6 separate regions of the Homo sapiens genome follow, and regions 1, 2, 4, 5 and 6 are each linked to region 3. Evidence: promoter capture Hi-C in 16 types of primary human blood cells and fetal thymus (Javierre and others, 2016). All regions are on one chromosome and are shown on one strand. Each heading gives the region's core, a stretch centred on a gene start or on the middle of the fragment in contact. The rest is flanking DNA. Distances are from core to core; before and after follow the strand shown. Region 1 overlaps EP400 (E1A binding protein p400). Region 2 has its middle 15 kb from the start of ULK1. Region 3 holds the start of RAN (RAN, member RAS oncogene family). Region 4 overlaps EP400 (E1A binding protein p400). Region 5 overlaps EP400 (E1A binding protein p400). Region 6 overlaps EP400 (E1A binding protein p400).

Region 1 (4,144 bases), core at 1,366-3,865, 1.1 Mb before region 3:
CTCTTCAAAGCGCAGATGCTGGTAACGAAAGTGCCTGTTGTTTATCTGACACGCATCAAGTGCAGGCAACCCGGTGGCTGATGAACGTCATCTCGCTGGTCTTCCATGAACCCATGAGGTGAGATGCATCATCGGACACAGGGAAAAGCCTGACACTTAAATGCACAAGGCAGGCCCGTGGGCAGCAGGGCTCATGGTGAGGCGCTTTTGTCATTTTTGGCATCAGTGCTCTCTCATCCTTATCCTTACCTTGCAGCTGCAGCGGCTGGCCCGCTGTGAGCTGCCGGAGCTGGCTGTGTGACAGGGTGAACTTGCTGCCCTGGAACTGCAGTGTCACCGGCGTCTCTGGCTGAGCCACGCGGCTCTGTGGTCCTGTGATGGATGCCAGCTGAGCTATTTTCACTACCTCTCCACCTGTTGAAACGTAGAGGAAAAGGTGAATTCAGATCATTTTGGAAAAAATTTGGGAGTGTCATATTGACAGTCGTTTCTTGTATATAATGACCATCTATCATAAACTGAAGCACCACAGAAATGTTTATCAGGTAGTGTTTTCTACCACTTCTTAAAAATAATTATTTTAATTAAAAAGAGAAAACAAAATGTCAGATTTTAATGGTTAACTTTACTTAACCATAATTGGTTGGGATTTTAGATATCAGATATTGATATTATTAACGAAGCTATTAAGGAACATTTTACTTTTCTACCGAAACAACAAAAATAGCAGAAATCAGCTGGGTGCAGTGGCACATGCCTGTAATCCCAGCACTTTGGGAGGCTGAGGTGGGTGGATCACATGAGGTCAGGAGTTTGAGACCAGCCTGGACAACAGGGTGAAAACCCATCTCTACTAGAAATGCAAAAAAAAAAAAAAAAAAAAAAAAAAAATTAGCTGGGCATGGTGGTGGGCGCCTGTAATCCGAGCTACACACGAGGCTGAGGCAGAAGAATTGCTTGAACCCGGGAGGCAGAGGTTGCAGTGAACTAAGATCAGGCCATTGCACCCCAGTCTGGGCAACAAGAGTGAAACTCCATCTCCAAAAAAAAAAAAAAAGCAGAAATGTATTTGTAATACACTTGGAAACTCACATATGAACCTAAACTTTAGAGAACTTTAAAAATGTGAAAAGTACCTGTCCAATTTAGCTCACAAAGAGAGATTATATCTTTACAAATATAAAAAAATAACTAGCTTCAATTACACCCATAACTCTTCAAAATCTAAGAATGTATTTTTATTTATTTTGTGAGAGACAGGGTCTGGCTGTCACCCAAGCTGGAGGGCAGTAGCAGGATTATAGCTCACTGCAGCCTCAAACTCCTGGGTTCAAGCGATCCTCCCACCTCAGCCTCCCAAGCAGCTGGGCCTACAGGTGTGAGCCACGGTGTCTACAAGATCTAGCAATGCCTCTAGATACATAAAGAAATCACATACATAAATAAAGCTTTAAGATATAAAGCTTCATACTAATTTGAATTAGATGGTAAGCGTCAATCTATAACATTTACTGTTTAAAAAAAAAAAAAGTAAAACTTAGCGTTGCTTAAAACACTTTTTTTGAAAAAACATAACTCAGATGTGGTCATTTGCCCCCAACTCAAAAAGGTACTACCTTCCGGCTACAACTGAACAACAGGTTTAAAGACTTATTTCCCAATGGTTGATACTTGAATCTAAATGTTCTTCCCGAGAAATCCATGCCAGAATTATTAGTGATATGATAAAAAGAATAGTTAGTAAGAGGCTAGAAAAATGTCTAGAGATATCTTGCCCACAGAATAACCGTGAACAAGGAGGGGAAAATGAAAACAGAAGACAGAGATTTGTGCATAGAAGTGTCAATCTCTCAACAATCCTCCTTGTTCCATACACAGGTGAGGACCGACCCACAGGAAAAGCAGTTTTGCTCACTTCACAGATCTCCCAAAGAACAGCTCCTCTGGCAACCACCAACATGACTCTCATCCCACGCAAGACAGTGTCTAGTTTGATGAAGATGTAAAATATGCAACTGCTTTCTCCCTTAGGGCACTTAACTAGGACAATTCCTCTTTATTTTTGGGCAATGGGAGAGAGAGACTTGTAAGGAAAGAGAATTAGTTTGAACTCAAGTGTCTCTGTGCATCACTCCCTCTCCCATCTGCATCTTTCCAGAAAGGCCTCCACATAATTTGGCTATACCAACAACAAAAGGAGTTGAGGTGGCACTTGAGAAATAACATAATACTTTAAGTCAGGATAATTTCCACCACAGAATGAATAGGGTACATGTAAGGTTTGAAAACATACTAATCCCACTGGACACAGCAAAATGTTCTGTATTAAAAAAATTAATAACTGTGTTTTTTAAGTCATAAATTATTACAAGTTATCTTGGTTGAGCAATCCCAAGTTTAAATTTGGTAACAGGCGAGAGACTAAAAAGAGCTAATGTTTTTTAGGAACCTAAAGCTAGTTCACATGACTGGCAAGGAAGCGACCTTCCCAAATGCAGTCGCTGTCACTCTAGGAGCATCTGCTCCCCCAGAGTGCACCTGTGTGGCTGGTGGAACAAGGCCGGGGCTAACACTGGGAAGTGCCGTCCACAGCACCAAAGCAGTGAGTGAGTGCAGCAGAAAAGCAGAGCTGGATGGCGGGGTCAGGAGAGAGAGCACAGACAGGAGAAGGCCGGATGTGGCCTCCACAGAGGCGCTCCCTGCTAGACTCATGCCGGAGGCAGCTGCACTGGTGAGAGGCAGCACCGGGCATGGGGCTGGGGAAAGACAAAGGAGTGGACAGCAAGGCTCCTCCTACATCCCCGTGTTCTTAACACAACTCCTCTGGGGTAGAGAGATGGCAGAAACCTGGAAAGGTGAGGCCACTTACTGGGCAAGCGGGCCTGGGCCTGCGAGGGGAGCACCAGCCTCTGAGGCAGCGCGCTCTGCCCGGCCGCGTGCGAGGGGGCCTGGGGCTGGGGCGGGGGCTGGCCTGGGGTGGAGGCCTGTGCTGTGGTCTGGGCCCGCAGTTTCGCAGGATGGGCCGGGCTAGCGGCTGTGCTGGAGGCCGAGGCGGGCTGGTGTCGTGGAGCACTGGCGGAAGCCTGAGAGGTCTGAAACGGGGCTGCTGCTGCTGCAATCGATAAGGTTTGTTTGTGCAAAGCTGTTAGAGGTTCTTAATAAAATACAATATTTTAAACTGAATTTTAAAGAAATAAAATAAACATTTCACACCGTCTCTCAAATGAGAAGTCCCCTCTTAAGGAAAAAAAGAGGGGCCATATAGTTTACAGGGTGAGAGAAATATAATTTTACTTGTTGATAATTATCTTCACTTCGAGCTACAGTACGCTACGCGGTACATTTCTCAGAGTAAACAGAAACTGTTAGAAGTCAGCCCAACCAAACATTAGTATCAATTAGAAACTATTTCCTAAACACACAAAGAAAACATCAACAGAGCTTCCACTCATATTTCTATAGAGAATGCTGGCAACAATGCAGGTCTGAGCATTTATTTTTAGCTCAGAAAACCTGGATGGACATGGCGTGGAGGGCCCCTTTGGCCAGGTGGTGAAATACTACTTTTAACTCTTTTGATGGCCTTTTCTACTCTACCCTTCCTCAAAAGAATAATTAAGTTCAAGTGACAGCACAAAATACAATATGAGCAGACGTTCTCAGGAGTCTCCTAGACGACTGCACGCACGCACCTCTGTCAACAGAAACAGCCTGCCCAGTGGCTGTGAGCATCAGATCAACACTTATCACCTAGGAGTGAAGCTTCTTCAATAGGGAAAACATCCATTACAAGCCATCAAAAAGTCTAAAACTCATCAAGAACTAAACAAGGCACCTTCAGAAAGCCAGCGGGTGGTGCCTGTTCCCACTCAGGGACAATTACCGCATCCAGAGGCGCGAGAAGAAAGTGCCATGAACTTGTCCCACAAAAACCTCCATAAGGCGGAGAGCAGACAACTACGTGAAGTCTACCTTTTGCCTCCGGATTGGCAGAGAACGTGGCGATGGGCGGCCGTCCTCGAAGCGGGCCCTGTGGAGCAGCAGAGGCCGTGGTGGGGGCTGCCGTCCGGGGCGGGTGAGTGCTGGGGAAAGCCACGGTGCGACCCTCGGGCTTCTGGCCATACTGCACAGGCTGAAACAACCT
Region 2 (4,630 bases), core at 770-3,269, 1.0 Mb before region 3:
CCGCCCAAGGGGTTCACCTTGCCCACTGCTGAAACAAAGCTGATTCGTGGAGACAGGGGAATTGCAATCGAGAAAGAATAATTGGGACGGGTGCGGTGGCTCGTGTCTGTAATCCCAGCACTTTGGGAGGCCAAGGCAGGTGGATCACCTGAGGTCAGGAGTTCAAGACCAGCTTAACTAACATGGCAAAACCCCGCCTCTACTGAAAATACAAAAATTAGCCGGTCATGGCAGTGCACACCTGTAGTCCCAGCTACTTTGGAGGCTGAGGCAAGAGAATCACTTGAACCCAGGAGCCGGAGGTGGCAGTGAGCCGAGATCGCACCACTGCACTCCAACCTGGGCAACAGAGCAAGACTGTCTCCAAAAACAACAACAACAACAACAACAACACAACAAAAAAGAGTAATTCATGCAGAGCCGGCTGTGTGGGAGACCAGAGTTTTATTATCACTCAAATCAGTTTTCCCGAGCATTTGGGGAGTAGAGTTTTTGTTTTTTCTTGTTGTTTTTTTCACACACAACGTGGGTGAATCTTGAAAACATGATTCTTGTGAAAGAAGACAGACGCAAAAAGACATATTGAGATAAAGGACTAGCTGGATTTCCTAGGCCGACTAAGAATCCCTAAGCCTAGCTGGGAAGGTGACCGCATCTACATTTAAACACGGTGCTTGCAACTTAGCTCACACCCAACCAATCAGGTAGTAAAGAGAGCTCACTAAAATGCTAATTAGGCTAAAACAGGAGGTAAAGAAATAGCCAATCATCTAACACCTGAGAGCACAGAGGGAGGGACAATGATTGGGATATAAACCCAGGCATTCGAGCCGGCAATGGCAACCCCCTTTGGGTCCCCTCCCATTTTATGGGAGCTCTGTTTTCACTCTATTAGATCTTGCAACTGCACATTCTTCTGTTCTGTGTTTGTTACGGCTCGAGCTGAGCTTTCACTTGCCGTCCACCACTGCTGAATGCCACCATCGCAGACTCGCTGCTGACTTCCACCTGTCCAGGTCCGGCAGGGTGTCGGCTGTGCTCCTGATCCAGTGAGGCGCCCATTGCCACCCCCCATCAAGCTAAAGGCTCGCCATTATTCCTGCACAGCTAAGTGCCCAGGTTCATGCTAATCAAGCTGAACACTAGTCGCTGGGTTCCACAGTTCTCTTCCATGACCCACGGCTTCTAAGAGAGCTATAACACTCACAGCATGGCCCAAGATTCCATTCCTTGGAATCAGTGAGGCCAAGAACCCCAGGTCAGAGAACAAAAGGCTTGCTGCCATCTTGAGAGTGGATGCCACAATCTTGGGAGGTCTAAGAACAAGGACCCCCCCCAGTAACATTTTGGTGATCATGAAGGGACCTCCAAAGTGGTGAGTAATATTGGACCACTTTCGCTTGCTATTCTGTCCTATCCTTCCTTAGAATTGGAGGAAAATACCGGGCACCAGTTGGCAGGTTAAAAACACTGGACTTAAGACTCAGGTGTGAGGCTGTCTGGGAAAGGGCTTTCTAACAACCCCCAACCCTTCTGGGTTGGGAGCGTGGTCTGCCTGGAACCAGCTTCCACTTTCTGGGGAAGCTGAAGGCTGATTAGAGGCAGAAAGCTGTCGTCCTGAACTCCCATCATTAGCCTGTTGAGATTATGGTGTGGCCAGAAGTCTCTACTCAACAGTTGTCCATACATGCACCCCTACCTTTCCTTTTGACCCATACTTCCTGGGTCCTGAGCATGAATTTCTTGAAAGTGTAGCCGCAAAATTCTCCTTACTGCTGAATCTACTTCCTCTGATCCCTGCCTCCTAGATACTAATGCTTCAGACTTTCACTTCCTCTCCCAAGTATTAGAGCAGGTTGTATCTCCAAAGGGATCTAAGGAAGCTCTACGCTGTGTCCTTAGGCCCCTAGGCTATGAACCCAGGGAGTCTTGTCCCTGGTGTTCCCCCCAATTTAGGCATACAGCTCTTGACATGGGCAGTTAGGTGGGACCCGCTCCTACCACCCTTGCCAAGGCCTTAGAACTGATAACCCAGTATTTTAACAATTGGAACTGGGTCTACAACAACATAATAGATCAGGATATAAGTAAATTGAGTAAATAAAAGGAAGGTACATATTCCTATAGTGGCAAATGGGGGCAACGAGCGAACGTCCTTCCACTGTTTCCAAAAATCCATCTGCAAAGACAGAAAGGAGAACATAAGAGAGAAAGAAGTAGTAAAGAAAAAACAGTGTACCCTATTTCTTTAAAAGCCAGGGTAAATTTAAAACTTATAATTGATAACTGAAGGTTTTCTCTGTGACCCTATAACACTCCAATACTACTTTGTTGTCATTGTAAATAAGGGTGTAGCCCGAAAGCACTGAGGCCACTGACAACCAGTAGCCTTCCTATCAAAAATCCTTAACCCAGTAACCCCTGGGGGGCCAAATGCATTCAATCTGTAGTGGCAACTGCTTTGCTAACAGAAGAGAGCAGAAAATTAGCCTTTAGAGGAAACCCCATTGTGAGCACACCTCACCAGTTCAGAACTATCCTAAGTCAAAAAAGCAAAAAGGTAGCTTACTAACTCAAAAATCTTAAAGTATGGGGCTATTCTGTTAGAGAAAGATAATTTAATGTTAACCACTGAAAATTCCCTTAACCCAGCAGACTTCCTAACAGGGGATTTAAATCTTATTTACCATACTAAGGTCCGACCAGACCTAGGAGGAACTCCCTTCAGGACAGGACAATAGATGGTTCCTCCCAAGTGATTGAGAAAAAAACACAATGGGTATTCAGTAATTGAGGGAAACTCTGGTAGAAGTAGAGTTAAGAAAATTGCCTAATAATGGGTCTGCTCAAACGTGCGAGCTGTTTGCACTCAGCCAAGCCTGAAAGTACTTACAGAATCAAAAAACTCTATCTCAATCCTGACTCAAAAGGTTACCCACACCCTCTCTGAAATGAATTTGCATAAGAACTGTTGTTTATGGGAGTGCATCTTGATGGGGTAACTGGGGTTTATTATGAAATACTCAGGAACCCAGCCCAGCTCTAGAACTCACCCTTGGGTGTAAAGGCAATGTCGGGCACACTATTAAAGGACCACTAGAATCAATAGCCCGGACCTCTTTCTTTGTGGTCAAGAAAGGTGGGAAAACAGGTGCAGGACCTGCTACGTCGGTGAGTGTAACTAATCCAATAAGCAGAGGTCCGTGGGTGGTTACGCACCCTGGAAAGGAATAAGCATTAGGAACATAGAGGACACTCTAGGACTAACGCTCATCAGAAAATAACCAGGGGTCCTGGCATCCCTATGTTCTTTTTCCAGATAGGAAAAGTTCCCCTAAGGCAAAAACGCTCCTAAGATGTATTCTGGAGAATTCGGCCCAGCCAGAGTGTATGTGCCTTTTTCCCTCTCAGACTTGAAGCAAATTAAAATAGACCTAGGTAAATTCTCAGATAACCCCGATGGCTATATTGATGTTTTATGAGGGTTAGGACAATCCTTTGATCTGACATGGAGAGATGCAATGTTACTGCTAGATCAGACACTAACCCCTAATGAGAGAAGTGCTGCCATTACTGCAGCCCGAGAGCTTGGAGATCTCTGGTGTCTCAGTCAGGTCGATGATAGGATGACAACAGAGGAAAGAGAATGATTCCCCACAGGCCAGCAGGCAGTTCCCAGTGTAGACCCTCATTGGGACACAGAATGAGAACATGGAGATTGGTGCTGCAGACATTTGCTAACTTGTGTGCTAGAAGGACTAAGGAAAACTAGGAAGAAGCCTATGAATTATTCAATGATGTCCACTGTAACACAGGGAAGGGAAGAAAATCCTACTGTCTTTCTGGAGAGACTAAGGGAGGCATTGAGGAAGCATACCTCCCTGTCACCTGACTCTACTGAAGGCTAACTAATCTTAAAGGATAAATTTCTCACTCACTCAGCTGCAGACATTAGAAAAAAACTTCAAAAGTCTGCCTTAGGCCTGGAGCAAAACTTAGAAACCCTATTGAACTTGGCAACCTCCATTTTTTATAATAGAGATCAGGAGGAGCAGGCGGAACGGGACAAACGAGATAAGAAAAAGGCCACCCCTTTAGTCATGGCCCTCAGGCAAGTGGATTGTGGAGGCTCTGGAATACGGAAAGGCTGGGCAAATCCAATGCCTAATAGGGCTTGCTTCCAGTGCGGTCTCCAAGGACACTTTAAAAAAGACTGTCCGAATAGAAATAAGCCGCCCCCTCGTCCACGCCCCTTATGTCAAGGGAATCACTGGAAGACCCACTGCCCCAGGGGACGAAGGTTCTCTAAGTCAGAAGCCACTAACCAGATGATCCAGCAGCAGGACAGGACTGAGGGTGCCCAGGGCAAGCACCAGCCCATGCCATCACCCTCACAGAGCCCCAGGTATGCTTGATCATTGACGGCCAGGAGGTTAACTGTCTCCTGGACACTGGCGCGGCCTTCTCAGTCTTACTCTCCTGTCCCGGACAACTGTCTTCCAGATCTGTCACTATCCGAGGCGTCCTAGGACAGCCAGTCACTAGATACTTCTCCCAGCCACTAAGGTGTGACTGGGGAGCTTTACTCTTTTCACATGCTTTTCTAATTATGCCCGAAAGCCCCACTCCC
Region 3 (4,200 bases), core at 77-2,576:
ATTGTTTTAAATATGACTTATAAGTCCCAGTGTAAGTCATAGTTTTTTCTAAAGCATGCCTAGCATGACACAGCATGCAAATGACACAACTTTAATAAAATTTTCTCTGCCACCAAAATGGTGGTCAACTCCCCGAAGTCCACTTGTCTTTTTTTAACCCAAAAATGACACTATTTGTTGGAACAGACCTGATTTTCTATAACCTTGAAGACTGAAGTACACAAAACCTCTCAAAAACCGTTCAGCAAGTTACAAATGCCTACCTTGGATATAATAGCCATCTCTCAGTCCACCGAATTTCTCCTGGCCGGCTGTGTCCCATACATTGAACTTAATAGGTCCTCTGTTGGTGTGGAACACTAGGGGATGAACCTCAACACCCAAGGTGGCTGAAACGGAAACGATGCGATTGAGTGGATGAACTTACCCATTTCTCACATATTTCCACAAGCAAGGTTTTCCAGCACATACCTACATACTTCTTCTCAAATTCACCAGTCAAATGACGTTTCACGAAGGTCGTTTTTCCAGTACCACCATCACCAACCAATACAAGCTGTTGAAAAACACATTTTGGAAGTAAACCCTAAACACTTCACCTCTCAAGATCCCAGAGTCACGGAACTTTAACCACCACAGGCTCACTTAAAACAAAGAATGTGGATGCGGGGCCCCATTACAGCCATCGTGGCCCCAGGAGGAGGGACCCGCGAGTCGCACGCGGTCGGGCTCGGCCGCCTCCCGCCCCGCAGGGTTACCTACTTTGAACTGGACCTGGGGCTCTCCCTGCGCAGCCATCGCGGCGTTCCTGCGGAGGCAGAGGACGGAGGCGAGCGCTCGCGCGGCCCCGCAGCCCATGGCGGCCCCGCTCCCGCGCCCCCAGCGCCCCACGTGCCCGCCCCACAAAGGCCTCCCGCCCGCGGCGCCATGGCGGCCAGGCCTGGGAGCGGGAAGGCGGCGGGCGGGGCCGGCATCCGGGGCGGCGGGGCCCGGGGAACGGCGGCCGGAGGTGTAGGGATGGGAACGGGACTGGGACCGGGACGGGGATGAGAGCGGAGGATGAAACGGGGGTTCGCGGGGGCTAGCGCCGACCCCACGCCCGTCTCCTGCCCCGGCCCGGCCGGGCCCGCACCACCCACCTACTCAGCCGCCCGCTGCCCCTGGGTCCGCCACCCGCCCCGGCCCTGGCCCCGGCTCCGACCCCTATCCCGCCGCCGCCACCCCTGTCCCCGCCCGGCCGTGCCGGGCCCGCCGGGTCGCGATACCTTCCAGAAGCGTCTCCGCGCCCGTCCGACTGAGGCTGGAAAGATGGCGGAAGCGCAATTCAAACGCCGGAGACGCAGCCGACGCCGGCGCGAGAGCAGGGGCGGGGCCGGCGCGGGGCGGGGTTGCAAGGGGCGGGGCAACGGCGCGGCGCCCGCCCACGTGGCCCGCGCGTGCGCGCACGCACGCAACGCGGTTCGGTCGGCCGCTCGGGCGGTCGCTGCGCTTAGGGTGGGGCGGGAGGCGCGGTGGACCGCGTGGGAGGGCGAGCCGGGAGCGCGTACGCAAGCCGGCCGGTGGGGACCGCGTGCGCCGACGCCCCGGGCGGGCTCCCGGGCGCGCATGCGCTGAAAGCGAGGCGGCGCGCCCCTGAGCGGGAGACGTTGGGCGCGGCCCGACGGTCGCGGCTCTCCTGCCTCCCGGGTGGGAGGCGGTACTCGCTCGGGCAGACGTGGTCAGGCACGCGGCTTCCAGGCGCTGGCCAGCCTGTCCTTGTCTGTGCCCCGTGGGGTGGGGGTTCTTGAGGTCCTGGGGCTTAGGGTGGCTCGCGTGCGCGCAGGACGGGTGGGTGACAGAACGAATGAATGAATGAATGGGGTCTAGGCCCGTCCTCCAGAGGCAGCCCGCTGTTCTGTCTCTCCAGATCGTAGCCTTCACGCCCCCAGGACCAGGGCCAGTTGGAGAGCGAGGAACCAGAGAGGGATGCACCCACCCAGAAAAACGGCTACTTATTTTTTTTAAGAGACGGAGTCTCGCTACGTTGCCCAGGCTGGTCTCGAACTCTCAGGCTCGGGCGATCCTCCCGCCTCAGCCTCCCGAGTAGCTGGGACTACAGGCGCGCACCACATCAGGGGTAATTTTTTAAAAATTTTTTTGAGAGACAGAATCTAACTATGTCTCCCAGGCTGGCCTCAGGGGATCCACCCGCCTCGGCCTCCCAAAGCGTCCGGCTTCTCAAAGCGTTTCATAGGTTGGCAGCTTTGGCCGCTGCATGCTACAGACAAAATGATGAAATACTGTTTGCAGTCTGGACGCGTCTACCAGCCCTAGTTACCAACGGGGACGGAATGAGTAAGTGCTCAGCTTCCCAGCCCCCTGTTGGCCTGAAGCTGTAAGAGCCCAAACAAGCTTGAGCTAGAGGGACCCGACTTCCTGGGCGCCCCTGCCGACATGCAGACAGATAAAGGCCCAAATCAGCGCAGTCAAGCGCCTCAGAAGAGTCCACCATGGGGAGAGAGCCGCAGTGACCGAAGAGTCCTCCCTGCAGTCCTGAGCACACTTGCAGGCGAGTCCGCTAGGAACCCCAGTGACGCAAATTAGGCACAAAGCAGGCGACAACCGGCCTGCTGGGAACGCAAGTCCGAGCTCCCCCAGAACCCTCAGGGGAACCCCAAGCACCTCTCAGACGCTGCTGGCGGGAGAGCAGAATCTAACAGTAAAACGGGAATGCCCATTGCTTGTGACCCCGGATTTCCATTTCTAGGGAGAGGCCCCAGAGTTAAACTCATGCCTCACGCATGTGCACAACATTTAATACTGTATAACATTTAAAAGGAATGACGGTCATCTGTTTCAACAGGGTTAGATAGATGTCAAAAGGATAGTGTTGAGAAAAGAAGAAAGAGGTGATAACAGCTTTATAAAGTCTAGGCCACCTGTAATCCCAGCACTTTGGGAGTCCGAGGTAGGAGGATCCCTTAAACCCAGGAGTTACAGGCTGCAATGGGCAATGATCTCACCATTGCACTCCAGCCTGGGAGACAGAGCAAGACCCTGTTTTCAAAAATTAATACATAAAACCTAACACTATATGTAACTTTATCTAGAGGGATTATATATATAGTATAATGTCATTTATGTATATTTTTTACAAATACACATAAAACAAAAGCATATTGGCTATTGGATATATGTATTTTGTTGTTTTTTTTAATTGACTGCAAGGATCTATATACCATATCCTGATGGTTATTGCTTCAAGAAAGGGTAGAAAGGAGTGTGATGGAACTGAGAAGAGGAGTCAAAGAAGACTTTAACTTTACCTGCAATGTTCTATTTCCTTTTTTTTTTTTTTTTGAGACAGCCTCACTCTCGCTCAGGCTGGAGTGCAGTGGTGCGATCTCGGCTCATTGCAACTTCCGCCTCCCAGGTTCAAGTGATTCTCCTGCCTCAGCCTCCTGAGTAGCTGGGATTACAGGCATGCGCCACAACACCCAGCTATTTTTTTTATTTTTATCTTATTTTTATTTTTAGTAGAAACAGGGTTTCATTATATTGGAATAGGTAATCGAGTGGTCACTTTGGCAGCACGTATACCAAAATTGGAATGATACGGAGAAGATTAGCATGGCCCCTGCGCAAGGATGACAATTTTTTTTCTTCTTCTTTTTTTTTTTTTTTTTTTTTTGAGACAGATTCTCGCTCTTGTCACCCAGGAACTGCGGAGAGAGGTCATAGAAGAGTTTAACCTTACCTGCAATGTTCCATTTCTTTTTTAAAAAATGGTAATCAGGGCCGGGCACGGTGGCTCACGCCTGTAATCCCAGCACTTTGGGAGGCCAAGGCGGGCAGATCACGAGGTCAGGAGATCGAGACCATCCTGGCTAAACCGGTGAAACCCCGTCTCTACTAAAAATACAAAAAATTAGCTGGGCGTGGTGGCGGGTGCCTGTAGTCCCAGCTACTCGGGAGGCTGAGGCAGGAGAATGGCGTGAACCCGGGAGGTGGAGCTTACAGTGAGCAGAGATCGCACCACTGCACTCCAGCGTGGGCGACAGAGCAAAACTCCATCTAATCAGGCTGGGTGCAGTGACTCACGCCTGTAATCCGAGCACTTTGGGAGGCCAAGGCAGATGGATCACTTGAGCTCAGGAGTTTAGGACCAGCCTGGGCAACATGGTGAAACCCATGTCTCTAAAAAAAAAACAAGAAAGAAAA
Region 4 (4,449 bases), core at 1,771-4,270, 1.1 Mb before region 3:
GCTCAGAAGTTGATCTGCTTATGCTTAAAAACTTATCATGAGATGCACCGAGTTTTTCAAAACAGAAGGCAAGGAAGACGTATTCAACAACAGTGCTGTGGCAAACTATGCAAACAGCTTAGAAGGGAACTGTTAAGAAGAACCCTCAGGCCGGGTGCGGTGGCTCACGCCTGTAATCCCAGCATTTTGGAAGGTCAAGGCAGGCGGATCACCTGAGGTTGGGAGTTCGAGACCAGCCTGACCAACATGGAGAAACCCCATCTCTACTAAAAATACAAAATTAGCTGGGTGTGGTGGCGCATGCCTATAATCCCAGCTACTTGGGAGGCTGAGGCTGGAGAATCGCTTGAACCCAGGAGGCGGAGGTTGCAGTGAGCCAAGATCGTGCCATTACACCTCCAGCCTGGGCAACAAGAGTGAAACTCCATCTCAAAAAAAAAAAGAACCCTCGCTGGAGGTGAAGGGACCCTCAGCCCTGCCTCTCTCTCCTTAAGCTACTTGGACTGAGACCCCCACCACAAGCCCACTGTGTTCCATTTCTTTCCACACAGCCTTCAGTCAGAGCACCCATGGGGTCATCGCTTCCCTAAGCTGACCCTCCTAATTTAAACGTGTCCAGCTTTACGTTCAAAGCTCAAATGTAAAGACAAGGCCAAATCCCCTCTTCTCTGCAGCAATAGCAAAGCCTACTTTAAGTCTGGAACATATAGTGGGAACCACATTCCAAGATGTTTACTGAACACTTCTCTTACAAGAGCAAGAACAGTGAAACCTTGTCCTGTGTTAGAGACACAAGTCACACCTTCCTCTGCAGCTAGGCACAGAGCAGGAGACTAGGGTGGGCACTTGACCCAAAAGCCAAGAGAGGAAGGGGAGTGAACAAGGAGCTGACTCTAAAGACTGGAAAGGAGGCCAGAGGGCCTACACAAGCTGTGTACCAGCTAGAAGTGTCAGGAGGGTGAAGAGCCAGTTGGGGCTGCCATGCAGAGACTGAGCCCACACAGTGTACCCAGGCCCATTCCCTAAGGAACCTGAGCAGTGGATCAGAAACGCTGCCCCATTGACAGGTGAAATCCAGCAAGAGGGACGAGAGGAGGCATGGACATGATAACATGAAAAGGATACAGTGAGCCAAGATGCATGCCACAAACCACCCCACACGGCTGAGAGCCCAACGGCGGGTTCATGCCAGTCTAGAAGCAGCATGGGAAGTGGACCACCTGCTCTGCTGCCCACACACTGCACAGTGACCTGACCCTGGAGTCACAAGGTTCAGTCATAGCCTGACGAGTCTCTGTATTTTATTAGATTTTCACTAATTGTTACTGGATGTTAACTGTGAACCAGTTTTTTATTCATTCATAAAATGAATACTTCTGAGCCTCAATTTGCTCAGGTCAACAGATAGGAGCAAAGAAGTAGATAAGATAGCCAAGTCCCCACACTCCCATCAAACACACTGGCCTATAGGTAAGTCCTAGCAAATAGGTATTGTTAAAAAAACTAGCAAACTCTTACCTTCGTTACAAGCTAGGTGGGCAAAAAAAGCAATGATCTGCACTGTTTTACCCAGCCCAGCTTCATCTGCCAATATGCCATTGAGATTCTTCCTGTAAAGTTTGGCCAGCCAGTCCAGGCCAATCTTCTGATAATCTCTGAGAGCCCCATACAACAAAGATGGAGCATTAAACTTGACCTGCAGTGATGAACAAATAAAAGAATGACAGCTCGTCAAAATAATCACCCAAACTTTTTCTCAAAACTGAAATCAACAGTCACATGATAAACCAATTAGAAAGCCACAAAAATGATCTACAGAAAACAGGAAGAGGAAGAATTGCTTCTTTTGGAGATCGAGTCTCGCTAGGTCACCCAAGCTGGTCTTGAACGCCTGAACATCTGGCCTTAAGCAATCCTCTTGCCTCACCCTCCTGAGTAGCTGGGACTACAGGCACATGAAGAATTGCTTTTTCTGACAACTCTGCAGTTGGGATAGACCATTTCACTGGGAAGAGGAAAAGCTTTTCTCATGGCTAAGCTATGTGCTCTGTCTCTCAAAGGCCCATCCCACACTTGAAAGCTTAGCGCCTCACCGAGGTTGTGACCCGAGCACTGCCCTTCGGCAGGATGGCTTCAGCCACCGCAGTGACGTCCGCAATGTCCTTGGCGTTTGGCTTCCCGATATTCATCCTCTCGGCAGCTTTGAACTGATCCATGATGAAAAGCGAGTCGATGAGAACCAAGTCCTTGCGACTCTCCCTGTCGCCTGGACAGTCATCTGCATCTGTAACGACAATAAAACAGAGAAGTGAGGGCCACTGAGAAGGCTTTATAAATCTAAACCTTTTTTTAAAACAGGAAAAAGTTTATAGAATCCAACTACTTTAAATACTGAATTAGGCAATAATTTTTTATTTGTAATCCAAAATATCTAACAATGCTACCTGGATAAATGGGAGAGAACTCTCATGAAACTATCAAACCAAGGACCATTCTGGAAAGCCCTCCAAGAGTATAATTTGCCCCAAATAGTCTGGCATTTTGGAAAATGTCTCCATAGCAATTAGGAGCTGGTATCACAGAGAGATACATGTAGGTGTCTCAGGGTTTAGGGATCTCCCGTCTATCACCAAGAAAGAAAAAAGCAGAACCCTTTCCCAAATGTGGGAAACCGGGAGGAGACCAAACCCGCCACTCCTTCCTCTGGTCCTGCTGGCAGCGTGGGGTCTGGTAAGGCCTGACCTCCCCAAGGCTCCTGTGGGCCACTCCCCAACTCGCATGCAGGTGTCTAACTGTCCCAACAACTGGAATGAGAGCAGGAAAGGCAGACCTTTTCTGGTATGCTCTGTGCATCTGTTTAGAAAGTCTAATACCAAGTAAAATAAACTACTCAAAACTGGTGTGTTGAACAAACACAGCACAGCCTGAATAAATATATCTAGGTCCATAAAACAATGATGTTTATAAATCTAGAGAAAAATATTTTTACATCCTTCACAACATGATCAAGTGCCCCGATAACTGTGCCAGGTTAATAAATTAAAAGCACGGAATTTAATAAAATTCTATTCAATATAAAGATACTTATTAAATATTTCTAATTTTTTATTTTATCAAACTAAAAGAAATTTTCTAAATCTTATTTTAAGTCTTTGTAAGTACTCCGGCTTCTGCTTTTAACCCTGAATTCTTCCAAAGGCTGGGAGCGCACCTTCCTCTCCGCTTGTGTCCTCCCCATCAGGCTTCGGCCGGGGCCACTGAGAACTCGGCAGGAAGGCGCCTTCGTACAGCTTCATCAGGTCCAGGAGGGGCAGCTCAGCTGCAGAGGGTTGCGGGCAGAAGGGCTGTTACTTTATAACAACAACTGTAATTTAAATTGGGAAGGAGCAGCAGCCAGGAGAACCACGGTAAGAAGGGCAAGGGGCTCCCTCTCACATGTATTCCTTTTTCCAGCTTTAGATCACTCCTTGGAAAAAGATTATATTGTCTAAAAGCACACTTGTTTTTTCTAAAAACTAAAATGGTTGCCCATTACTGATAAAAGGTGTAAAATATTTTGTTGGGGGATGCAAGGGGAATGATGAGAAATTACTTAGTAGGTGCAACACACATTTGGGTCATGACATACCAGAGACCCAGACTTCACCACTACACAGTACAGCCAGGAAACAGCACTGTACTTGCACCCCTGAAATTTATGCAAATTTTTAAAAGTATAAAATATTTTCTCTATAAAGATGAGAATCTTTGAAAGAAACTCAATTGTATTCACAAAAGATTTAAAATATCTGAAATAATCTAAATGAACAGTAACAGTATAGACTAATAAATAAAAATGTAAAAAGTGAACACCATTGATAGGAAATAACTGATGAAGATGATATATAAAAATACAAAATATCAAATGAAGAAACAAAAAGCAAAAATGTTAAAAAGTATAATAAAACATAATTAAGCTTTTTTTATAAAACACTCACCCTAATTGCTTAAAAAAAAATACCACACATTAATTAAATCCCCAATAACAGTGGGCAAAGGATATGAAGCTGTTACATACATAAAAGTGTAAAGGGCAATAAAATGTTTTTTCATTAATCATCCCTGGAAATCAGTGCACAATTTGTTAAGTACCAAATTATCAACCACCTTAAAATCATAACACTGGGAAATTATTATGAATTAGATACTCCCACATGCTGCTGATAATGGCATAAACTGGCTGGATTTTTCTGGAAATCAACACGGAAAGCTGAAGGGCTTTGGAATCCAATGCCCTCAACCTCATCATTTCCCCTTTTAGTGAGTCTATCCAGAGGAATGACAGAAATGTGAACCCAGATTTCTGTTCAAAGAATGTTCACACAGTGGTAGATCTAACAGGGGAAAACCCTTTAGTTGGGCTGTGTACTTGTGATATGTGAGCTTGTTTGCATCTGTATTTTATGTCAA
Region 5 (4,315 bases), core at 1,499-3,998, 1.2 Mb before region 3:
TGGTATCCTAAGAAATCTCTGCCTAAACCAAAGTAGCACAGATTTTCTCCTAGAAATGCTACTGTTTTGGCTTACAGTGTAGTTTTTGCTTTTACATGCAGGCCTGTGATCCACCTGGAGTGCCTTTCATACTCCGTGTGAGTTACGGGCCAAGGCTCATTGTTTTGCACATGGCTGCCCAACTGTTACAGCACCGTTTGCTGACAAGACAGTCTGTTCACCACTGAATTCCCTTGGCACTTTTACTGAGGTCAACTGAAAATGTGTGTGTGTGTGTGTGTGTGCGTGTGTTGTGTTGGGGAGGGGTCTATTTCTGGACTCTCTATCCAATTCCATCATCTACACATCTATCCTGCCAATGCTCCATCATCTAGGCTACTACAGCAACGACATCTTCACAGGAAAGATGCTTTTCAAAACCCAAGAGAGACTACATTCTACTTGCCAAAGCACTGACTTTGAAGCATCGTTTCTTCTCATTCAGGGTATGTTGCCCCTGGGTCTGTGAACTATTTGGAAAATCGAGATACAAATCTGAGCTCCTTATTCTCACTTGTGTTTGGTTCTGATGATGAAACACCCAAGAGAAGCAGGTGGTCCCAGGGCACCACATGGCTCTGCACCTTTGCCTAGGTGCCTCCTCTCCACCTGGGTGGGCTGCACCTACCGCTTCCCACACCTGGGGTCTCCACGTTCCGTAGAAACTGCCCGCTCCTCCCATGCCCACCTGCTCCTTGCACACACCCAGCCATGCCCTCGTGTGATGCCGTGTCCCCTCCCCCAAAACCACGCCCCCAAGAGGGCTGTCATCTCTTAGCTTCCCCACATGGGCACAGTGACAAGCACATGGGGGGCACCTGCGGCAATAGAATCAGCAGCGGACCCTCACATCCCGCCTACCTCCTATCTAAAATCATCCTACAGGGAGGGGACAGTTCACACACACACACACACATACCCTCCTACACTTCACACACACACCCCTACACTTCACACACACACACACCCCTACACTTCACACACGCCCCCCTACACCTCACACACATACCCCTACACCTCACACACACCCCTACACCTCACACACACAACCCCTACACCTCACACACACCCCTATACCACACATACCCCTACACCTCACACACACCCCTACACCTCACACACACAACCCCTACACCTCACACACACCCCTACACCTCACACACACACACCTACACCTCACACACACCCCTACACCTCACACACACACACACACACCCCTACACCACACACACACACACATACCCCACCTCATTTTCATCCCTCATACAGAATGGAAACCATCCCCTAAACAGCTGAATGTTTCTGAAATCAACATACTGATCAGCTACTTATTTTATGAAATTCAAACTAGACAGTTTTTCACCAATGGAATACTTAAAAAGAAGAAGAAGAATTAACAGACAAGCAAATAATTTCGGCAGAATGCAGTCAAGGTGCACAACCCAGGTGAAGCGCAACTCACAGTCAAGGCCCCAGGAGCCACTGGCGACGCCAGGCGCTTGTTGATGGACTGGAAGGTGGCAGCTGGGACCCCTGCGATGGTGTTCACGATCACATTTCCACTCACGGCACCTGCGGAGACAGGCGGGCATAAGGCAACAGCGCCAGGAGAAATGGGGTCCACATTTCAGCATCTCTGTATTTGTCTTACCAGTGGGCATGCTCGTCCCAGTAACTGATGTTTTAATGGTTCCTGCCTATTTAAAAAAAAAAAATCCATTTGAATTTCACGTCAGGCTCTCCCCTGCATAAATCCTCCAAAGGCTTCCACTTCATTCAGAATCAAATCCAAACTCCACGACATTCACACAGCCACCTGTCCCATCCTCCCCAGCTCATTCCACCTGGCGGTGCCCCCACCCTCTGTCTACCTGCTGTCCCTCCACCCCTATCCCATTGTCCCTCCACCCCAGGGACCCTCCATCCCACTGTCCCTCCACCCTCACCCCACTGTCCCTCCACTCCTCCGTCCCTCCACTCCATTCATCCACCCTCTGTCCCTCACCACCTGAGTCCAGCCACACTGAGCTTTCTGGCCCCCATATCAGCCAAGCTCAGGGCCTCTGTACTTGCTGTTTTGTTCTTCTTATGACCAACTCCTTGTCATTCAGGCCTTAGCTCAAATGCCAAGTCCTCAGAAAGGTGTTTCCTAACAAGCCAGTCCTGCATTGTGCCACCCTGACTCCTCCCGCCAGCATTTAAAATGATCCCTTTGGCTGCCTCCCTCCCCTGTAGGACGTGGCTCCAGAATGTGGGCACTGCCCATCTTGCCCACCTTGCACCAAGTAAGTATTCACAAAGATCCCTTTTGAATAAATGAGGAATGAAGTTGCCTGAGTACATATAAAAATTCCACTACAGCAAACAATTTTCTAAAAACTACTGCAGGAAATGGTTCTATGTAACAAAAATATTTTTATGCCTGCCTGGTAGTCCAAAGTGTGGGTTTCCCCAATTTGGCACAGCTCCTATTCTCTGCAGGTGTGATTCTGCGCATATGATTTCAGCGTCTGTGTGGCACACGGACGCACACAGTACAGAGATACACCAGAGCGTGGTGTGCATGGCCACAGTCCGCAGCTCCGCACCCTGCCTTTCTTTTCACAATGCTTCTTGTGTGCTTTACAGCTTTTCTACAACAGGCATTAAAGACTGACCTGTGTGGGGGAGCACACATGGGCATGCTTTGAGACACCGACACAGGCAGTACCTGCTCTCTAAGTGTGTAGGAAGTCAGGAAGTGAATGCGTCACAGGTATGTTTTACAAAACCCAGGCAATTACAAACTTCCCAACCACCTCCACTAAAAGGAGCTGCCTCTACCTGCCAAATCCAATAAAGCCACTAAGCCCACAAAAGCCCTGGAGGAGAGAAATGGCAGAATCCAGGTGAAAACACACAATTCCTCTGGGATGAGACTAAGCCTTTTCCCATTTCTTCAGAGGAAGGTCTACAAGCTGGAAATGTGCTAGAACTGGCAACAAGTCTTCGTTTCAACAGAAAGCACTTGAATCAAGTGCAGGTGTGGGTGACTTCCCGTAGAGGGGAAGCCCGGGAGGAGGCCCCTGCTCACCAGTACGGCTGCACTGCCCCCCGTCGTGATTGCGGGCTGCGCCTTCGCTGGGGCCTGCACAGGCTGTGGCTGGGTCTGGGGCTGTGGCTGGGGTTGGGGCTGGACAGCTGGTGGCCCTGCTGGCGGCTGGCTGCCCGCTGCCTGTGGTTGTGGCAGCGGTGGCGGTGGCTGCTGCGGGGGTGGTGGGGGCTGCGGCTGGGGCGGGGGTGGCTGGGCCACGGCCGGCTGCTGTGCCTTCTGCTGATCAGCCAGAGCCTGAGGGGCCAGGAAGGAAGAGGAGCCACTGGAGGGGCAGACTCGGCCTGCATACCCCCTGGATGAAGTCACAGTCACCACATTTTCCCACTCAAGCAGAAGGGCCCAGGGCGCTGACCTTTTTCTCTTTTGCGATTCGCTCTGCACGGAGAGATGCCACCTGGATGGGAGGCAGCGGCTTGTCATAGTTGATTCCACTGAAAGACAGACGCAAAGGTTAAAAACATACAGGCAAGTTTTAAGACAGACAAGTACCACGTACCCTAGAAACACCATGCTGCCAGGTGCTGGGGCAGCTCCAGCCCAAGAGATGAGGGCGTAAAGCAAGGTGCCCAATGTGCCCTGCAGGAGATCGAGCCACCTAGACCTCATCCTCAGCCTGGCGCTGAGTCCTCTTCCTTGAGGCCGAGCTCTCCCACTCTCCAGGAAAAGTATCTCCGAACACGTCCCCAGCGTACTTGTGGCAGCCCCCAAACGCACAGCCCACCTCATGTGTCTGCACTGTACTTGGGAAAATCTCTGTCTGTTCCTTCTGTGAGGATGCCCTCGAGTTCCTCTCCAGGGAGGTAAAGGGAGGGCGGGACTGTGCCTCTCTCGCTCCCCCGAGAATGCCCAGGCTCCACGCCGCGCAGGCCCGCGGTCCATAAATATTAGTAGGGTGAATTAACTCTTCATTTAATCGACAACATCAATCAAATGATGGGTCTGTGCTCCCAGACGCTAGAGTCCCAGCGATCACAGCACTCACATCAGACGACAAACAGGTAAAATGTGCAGTGGGTCTGAAGACGTACTGGCTGCTATGGAGGAAAACAGCAGGGCGGGGCTGCAATTCTCAACAGTGCGCTCTGAAAACATCTCACGAGGGCAGTTAAGTGAAGGGCTGGGGCGCGGCTGCCAGCACACTCAGGGAGCACCAAGGGGCTGAAAGCCAGGGCCAGGCGACTC
Region 6 (4,246 bases), core at 367-2,866, 1.2 Mb before region 3:
TTGTAGTAAAGCTTTTAATAGAGTTTGGTTTCTTGAAATCTATATGCCAGTGTGACTTTAAACAAAATTTAGAAAGTTTAAAGCACCGCTTTACATTTAAAGCACTGTGCTAAAGAGTCATATTGTGGAGCATCAGTGACAACAGTGAAAGCGCCTGAAGGGCTTCTGTGGGAGGCAAGGCCACTGTGCCCACAGCGCCTCTGCTCAAGGGCGGGCCCCGAGCGGAGCCTGCTTGCCTGAGGCCTGTGCCTCCCTAAAACCACAGGGCAGTGTCTGCGACTTGCAGGACACACCCGCGATGATCAGTGAATGAAGGGTCCTGGGAATGAGCCCAAGGTGAGGCTCCCTCAGTATGGCTGACACAACCTCTAAACGCTTGTTCACTCTTCTCATTATTAAGTGTATCTAGTTTTTCCCCTGAAGTTAATGTTTTTGTGTGTATCACAAAAATCAAAAGTGATTCCCTAATCATGACCTCAGATGAAAACAACCCATTCTCTGACCTGGGAAATGTGAGGTTTCCACTTTGTCTATGCGTCCTACCTGCTGGGAAGCAGAGGCAACTTGCTGGATGCTGGCCACGGGTGTTTGCTGTTGAACAACTTGAGGAAGTTTTGCAACCTTTGACAAAACAAAAAAAGCCAAACATACAATTCAAAGGAGTATGTGCACAAAAAGAGATTTTTCCTCCCTTTCTGTCCTCAGTTAATGCAAAAAACACAATGACCAGGTGACACAGAAGAGCAATTCTCGTAGTGTGCCCACCTGCAGCAGTGAGAGAGCAAGTCGTTCCACTGCATGGTGAGTCAACTGACTGCCTCCCCAATTTGCCATCACTCATCATTTAAGCTTATTTTTGGTCTCATATTTCAGACACATTTTTTCTTTTCACAAAAACGACTGCAAGTTTATATGAAAGAATCAGACTGAGGATGGTAAGTATTTGAGCGTCTTGTGAGTCCCAAGGGCTCTGCATATGACAGGCCTGGACGACGTTCCAGTAATGAGCTGTACAGTGCAGCTAGGGCAGCCAGCTGAAGTGGGGAACCCGGTGACGCACCAAGGTTTTGAGGCTGGTAATTTTATCATTTTTCTACATTCTTCTTAGTCATGATTGAGATCTGGCTATTTATAAAGCAACACTTTCCACCCAGTGCCCACTTTCTGTGCACTTGCTACTGCATGCATCTCCCGCTGTCTTGACGTAGTAAGAGGCTCTGGGCCACCTGTGTGTCCTATCAGCACCGTCATGGCGTGCACCCAGAACACAAGAGAGGCTCCAGCGTGGGCAGCTGCTGGGGGCCCTGATTTCAAGGGCCCTCCCTGCACAAGGCCCTCACGGACCCTGGTCTCTTGCTGGGTCCTGTTACTTACAGAAAACGGATGAAAATAATATTTCCCAAGATTATTCTGCGAAATATGTGAAATTACATGATTTACTCACACATGAACAAAGGTCGAAATAAATGTTAGTCCTTACTAAAATTAAAATCAATCAGAAGGCATTTACTAGTTTACTGTCACTTAAACAATTATAAATAAAATTCACTAAGATAAGTGCCCTGAGCGCCCCCTGTGGAACTGCTGGGAAACAAAGATGCAGCCGGTGCTCCAGGGCCCATCTCAAGACCACAATGGTCCAGGACTTACTTGGCACAGCACTGAAAATCCTGAGACGTCTTAAATAAAGCACTAGCAAGAAATCTTAAATGTACCAAGAAACCTGCAAAGAGTCAGGAACTGCCAGTCTCCAAACCTAAGCACAGGCGGGCATCACGAGTCACGGAGCAGAAAAGCTGCACAACCTCTGCCCGGGATCGCTGGCCACATGGAGACGCACCCCGTGATCTCCAGGGTCGCACAGGACACAGCTGACCAGACACCAGGTATAGGCCAGTTCTCGGTGGGGAGCTTGCAAAAGAGCCCCGTGCTACTGCCAGCTGCCATCCTGGAGGGAGACACTGTACCCACAAAGGTACCCAAAGGCTGCAAAGAAAGCATCCCCTTCCTCCAGTGGCATCTGTAAGAAAAGCACCTGCCCTAAGCCTCAGTGCCGGGGAGGAGAGAGGAGGAGACACAGATTCAGAGGCCAGGTGGGTAACACCTGAGAGCTGAGTGAAAGCCTGAGCCACACACCAAGCAGTGTTCCTGTGGCACCTGAAGGTGCCCGCGGAAGCAAAACTCCACCTTTGCCCCAGGCTGCGAGGGGTCCCCGCAGATGCAGCACATTTCAGACAGGGAAATCACCAGATCCAGAAAAACACCTCACTCACTCTGCGAGGCCTGGAAACAAGAGACTATAAACAAAGACCAGGCATTATTTGGGAACTTCTGAAAATAAAATAATAAATCATCAAGATAAAAATTCAACAGACAAGCTTTGAAGCAGATTTGACTTAACCAAGGGAAAAATGAGTGACTGAGGAGACAGAGCGAAAGACATGACTCAGAATATAGTACGACGAGACAAAGACACAGAAAATACAAAAGCTGCTGAGAGACCTGGAGGGCAGAGGAAGCAGGACAGGGGCAACACGTAAACAAACAGTGGCTGCTTATTTCCTAAAGACATGAGAGAGACTGCCCGAGATTCAAGAAGCTGGAGCATTGGAATGAAACTGCAAAACAACAAAGACAAAGACAACGTCTCGATAACAGGCAGACAGTGGGGGAGAGAGGTGACCCAGAACAACAAAGACAAAGACAACGTCTCAGTAACAGGCAGACGGTGGGGGAGAGAGGTGACCCAAAACAACAAAGACAAAGACAACGTCTCAATAACAGGCAGTCGGTGGGGAAGAGACAGGTGACCCTGGAAGAGAGAAACGCTGGACAGACACCGGCTCCTCTTCAACAACAAAAGCAGCCACAGTGAGGAAATGATACCGTGAATGCACTCAGAAAACAATGCCGACCGGGCGCGGTGGCTCATGCCTGTAATCCCAGCACTTTGGGAGGCCGAGGCAGGTGGATCACCTGAGGTCAGGTGTTCGAGACCAGTCTGGCCAACATGGTGAAACCCCACCTCTACTAAAAATATAAAAATTAGCTGGGCATGGTGGTGTGTGCCTGTAGTCCCAGCTACTCGGGAGGCTGAGGCGGGAGAATCTCTTGAATGTGGGAGACAGAAGTTGCAGTGAGCCAAGATCATGCCACTGCACTCCAGCATGGGAGAGTGAGCCTCCGTCTCAAAAAAAAAAAAAAAAAAAAAAAAAAACCCCAAAAAACAATGCCAATCCGGAATTCTGTACTAAGCAAAACTGTCTCTCAGGAACAAGAGTGACACACAGGCATTTTCAAGCACTAAAGGAAATTCCAAAGGATGGGTCAAGTGGAAGGAAAGTAATTCCACATAAAAAGTCAAAGATGAAAAAGGACAGAATTATGGCTGGGCATGGTGGCTCACGCCTATAATCCCAACACTTTGGGAGGCCAAGGCAGGTGCATCACGAGGTCAGGAGTTCGAGACTAGCCTGGCCAACATGGTGAAACCCATCTCTACTAAAAATACAAAAATTAGCTGGGCCTGGTGGCATGTGCCTGTAATCCCAGCTACTCAGGAGGCTGAGGCAGGAGACTCGCTTGAACACAGGAGGCGGAAGTTGCAGTGAGCCAAGATCGCGCCACTGCACTCCAGCCTAGGCGATGGAGCAAGACTGTGTCAAAAAAAAAAAAAAGGAAAAGGGACAGAATTAAAACGCACACTAACAGCAGCATTTGAGATGAATAAACTGAGCTACTGTGTGATAAGATCATTGCTGGAGAAGAGGGTGGAGGCCATCGTTAACTTCATACTCTGATACAGAAGTGTGCACATGGAGATTTTAGGGTAACCACTTAAAGAACAGAAAGAAAATATATAATTTTTCACTGGCAGAGGGGAGAATTGATAAAAAAAAAAAAAAAAAGAGAAGGTGGCCCAAAAGAAGGCAAGGAAGGGAGGAAAGAAAAAACAGAACAAGCAAGACAAACAGAGTCCAAACAAAAGAGAAGCCAGAAATTCAAATATACCCAACCTTATATACAGACAAGTGGACACGTGTTTCAGGTAAGAGTCAGAGATGGAAAGCCTGACCTCACAACAGCACCGGACCTGCCCGCGAGCTGCTCACAGGAGGTGACGAGGGACACACAGAGAATGGCTGAAAACAAGGAAGGAAAAACACAGACCAAAAACTTCCAACAGGAGGGTGGTGCTTTACTCATGTGAGGAGAATAGGCTTCAAGACCAGAGATATTACTGAAG

Evidence for each region. The method cuts DNA at HindIII sites, captures the fragments that hold promoters and counts their contacts. A CHiCAGO score of 5 or more calls a contact.
Region 1: a contact is called between a fragment that was not itself captured here and the fragment with the promoter of RAN in region 3, in 1 of 17 cell types (total B cells). The highest score is 5.2, in total B cells.
Region 2: a fragment that was not itself captured here is called in contact with the fragment with the promoter of RAN in region 3 in 1 of 17 cell types (total B cells); the score reaches 5.8 in total B cells.
Region 4: a fragment that was not itself captured here is called in contact with the fragment with the promoter of RAN in region 3 in 3 of 17 cell types (endothelial precursors, naive B cells and erythroblasts); the score reaches 5.4 in endothelial precursors.
Region 5: a contact is called between a fragment that was not itself captured here and the fragment with the promoter of RAN in region 3, in 2 of 17 cell types (total B cells and naive B cells). The highest score is 6.2, in total B cells.
Region 6: a contact is called between a fragment that was not itself captured here and the fragment with the promoter of RAN in region 3, in 2 of 17 cell types (total B cells and naive B cells). The highest score is 9.3, in total B cells.

Annotation. Positions count from the first base shown.
Region 1 is chr12:132,020,047-132,024,190 of GRCh38, reverse strand. It overlaps EP400 (E1A binding protein p400), which reads right to left. Exons shown (of 53, transcript NM_015409.5): 22 at 3,973-4,142; 23 at 2,870-3,112; 24 at 250-414. Among named protein-coding and RNA genes, the nearest start is that of SNORA49, 9.1 kb to the left of the region's middle. RefSeq lists an enhancer at 1-296. The HindIII fragment of the contact is 2,299 bases long and covers 1,466-3,764 here.
Region 2 is chr12:131,876,906-131,881,535 of GRCh38, reverse strand. No RefSeq gene overlaps it. Among named protein-coding and RNA genes, the nearest start is that of ULK1, 15 kb to the left of the region's middle. The HindIII fragment of the contact is 8,001 bases long and covers 1-4,630 here.
Region 3 is chr12:130,869,192-130,873,391 of GRCh38, reverse strand. It overlaps RAN (RAN, member RAS oncogene family), which reads right to left and starts at 1,326. Exons shown (of 7, transcript NM_006325.5): 1 at 1,266-1,326; 2 at 763-808; 3 at 472-556; 4 at 264-389. The coding sequence starts at 798. It also overlaps the pseudogene RNU6-1077P. RefSeq lists silencers at 812-1,021, 1,072-1,211, 1,282-1,741 and enhancers at 763-1,524, 2,022-2,101, 1,525-2,286. The HindIII fragment of the contact is 6,850 bases long and covers 1-2,393 here.
Region 4 is chr12:132,003,947-132,008,395 of GRCh38, reverse strand. It overlaps EP400 (E1A binding protein p400), which reads right to left. Exons shown (of 53, transcript NM_015409.5): 13 at 3,212-3,319; 14 at 2,094-2,284; 15 at 1,519-1,696. Among named protein-coding and RNA genes, the nearest start is that of SNORA49, 25 kb to the left of the region's middle. RefSeq lists an enhancer at 1,403-2,602. The HindIII fragment of the contact is 1,876 bases long and covers 2,083-3,958 here.
Region 5 is chr12:132,052,395-132,056,709 of GRCh38, reverse strand. EP400 (E1A binding protein p400) reads right to left here. Exons shown (of 53, transcript NM_015409.5): 42 at 3,486-3,564; 43 at 3,113-3,367; 44 at 1,691-1,736; 45 at 1,502-1,611. Among named protein-coding and RNA genes, the nearest start is that of SNORA49, 23 kb to the right of the region's middle. The HindIII fragment of the contact is 6,897 bases long and covers 1-4,315 here.
Region 6 is chr12:132,072,891-132,077,136 of GRCh38, reverse strand. It overlaps EP400 (E1A binding protein p400), which reads right to left. Exons shown (of 53, transcript NM_015409.5): 52 at 544-621. Among named protein-coding and RNA genes, the nearest start is that of SNORA49, 44 kb to the right of the region's middle. The HindIII fragment of the contact is 1,529 bases long and covers 852-2,380 here.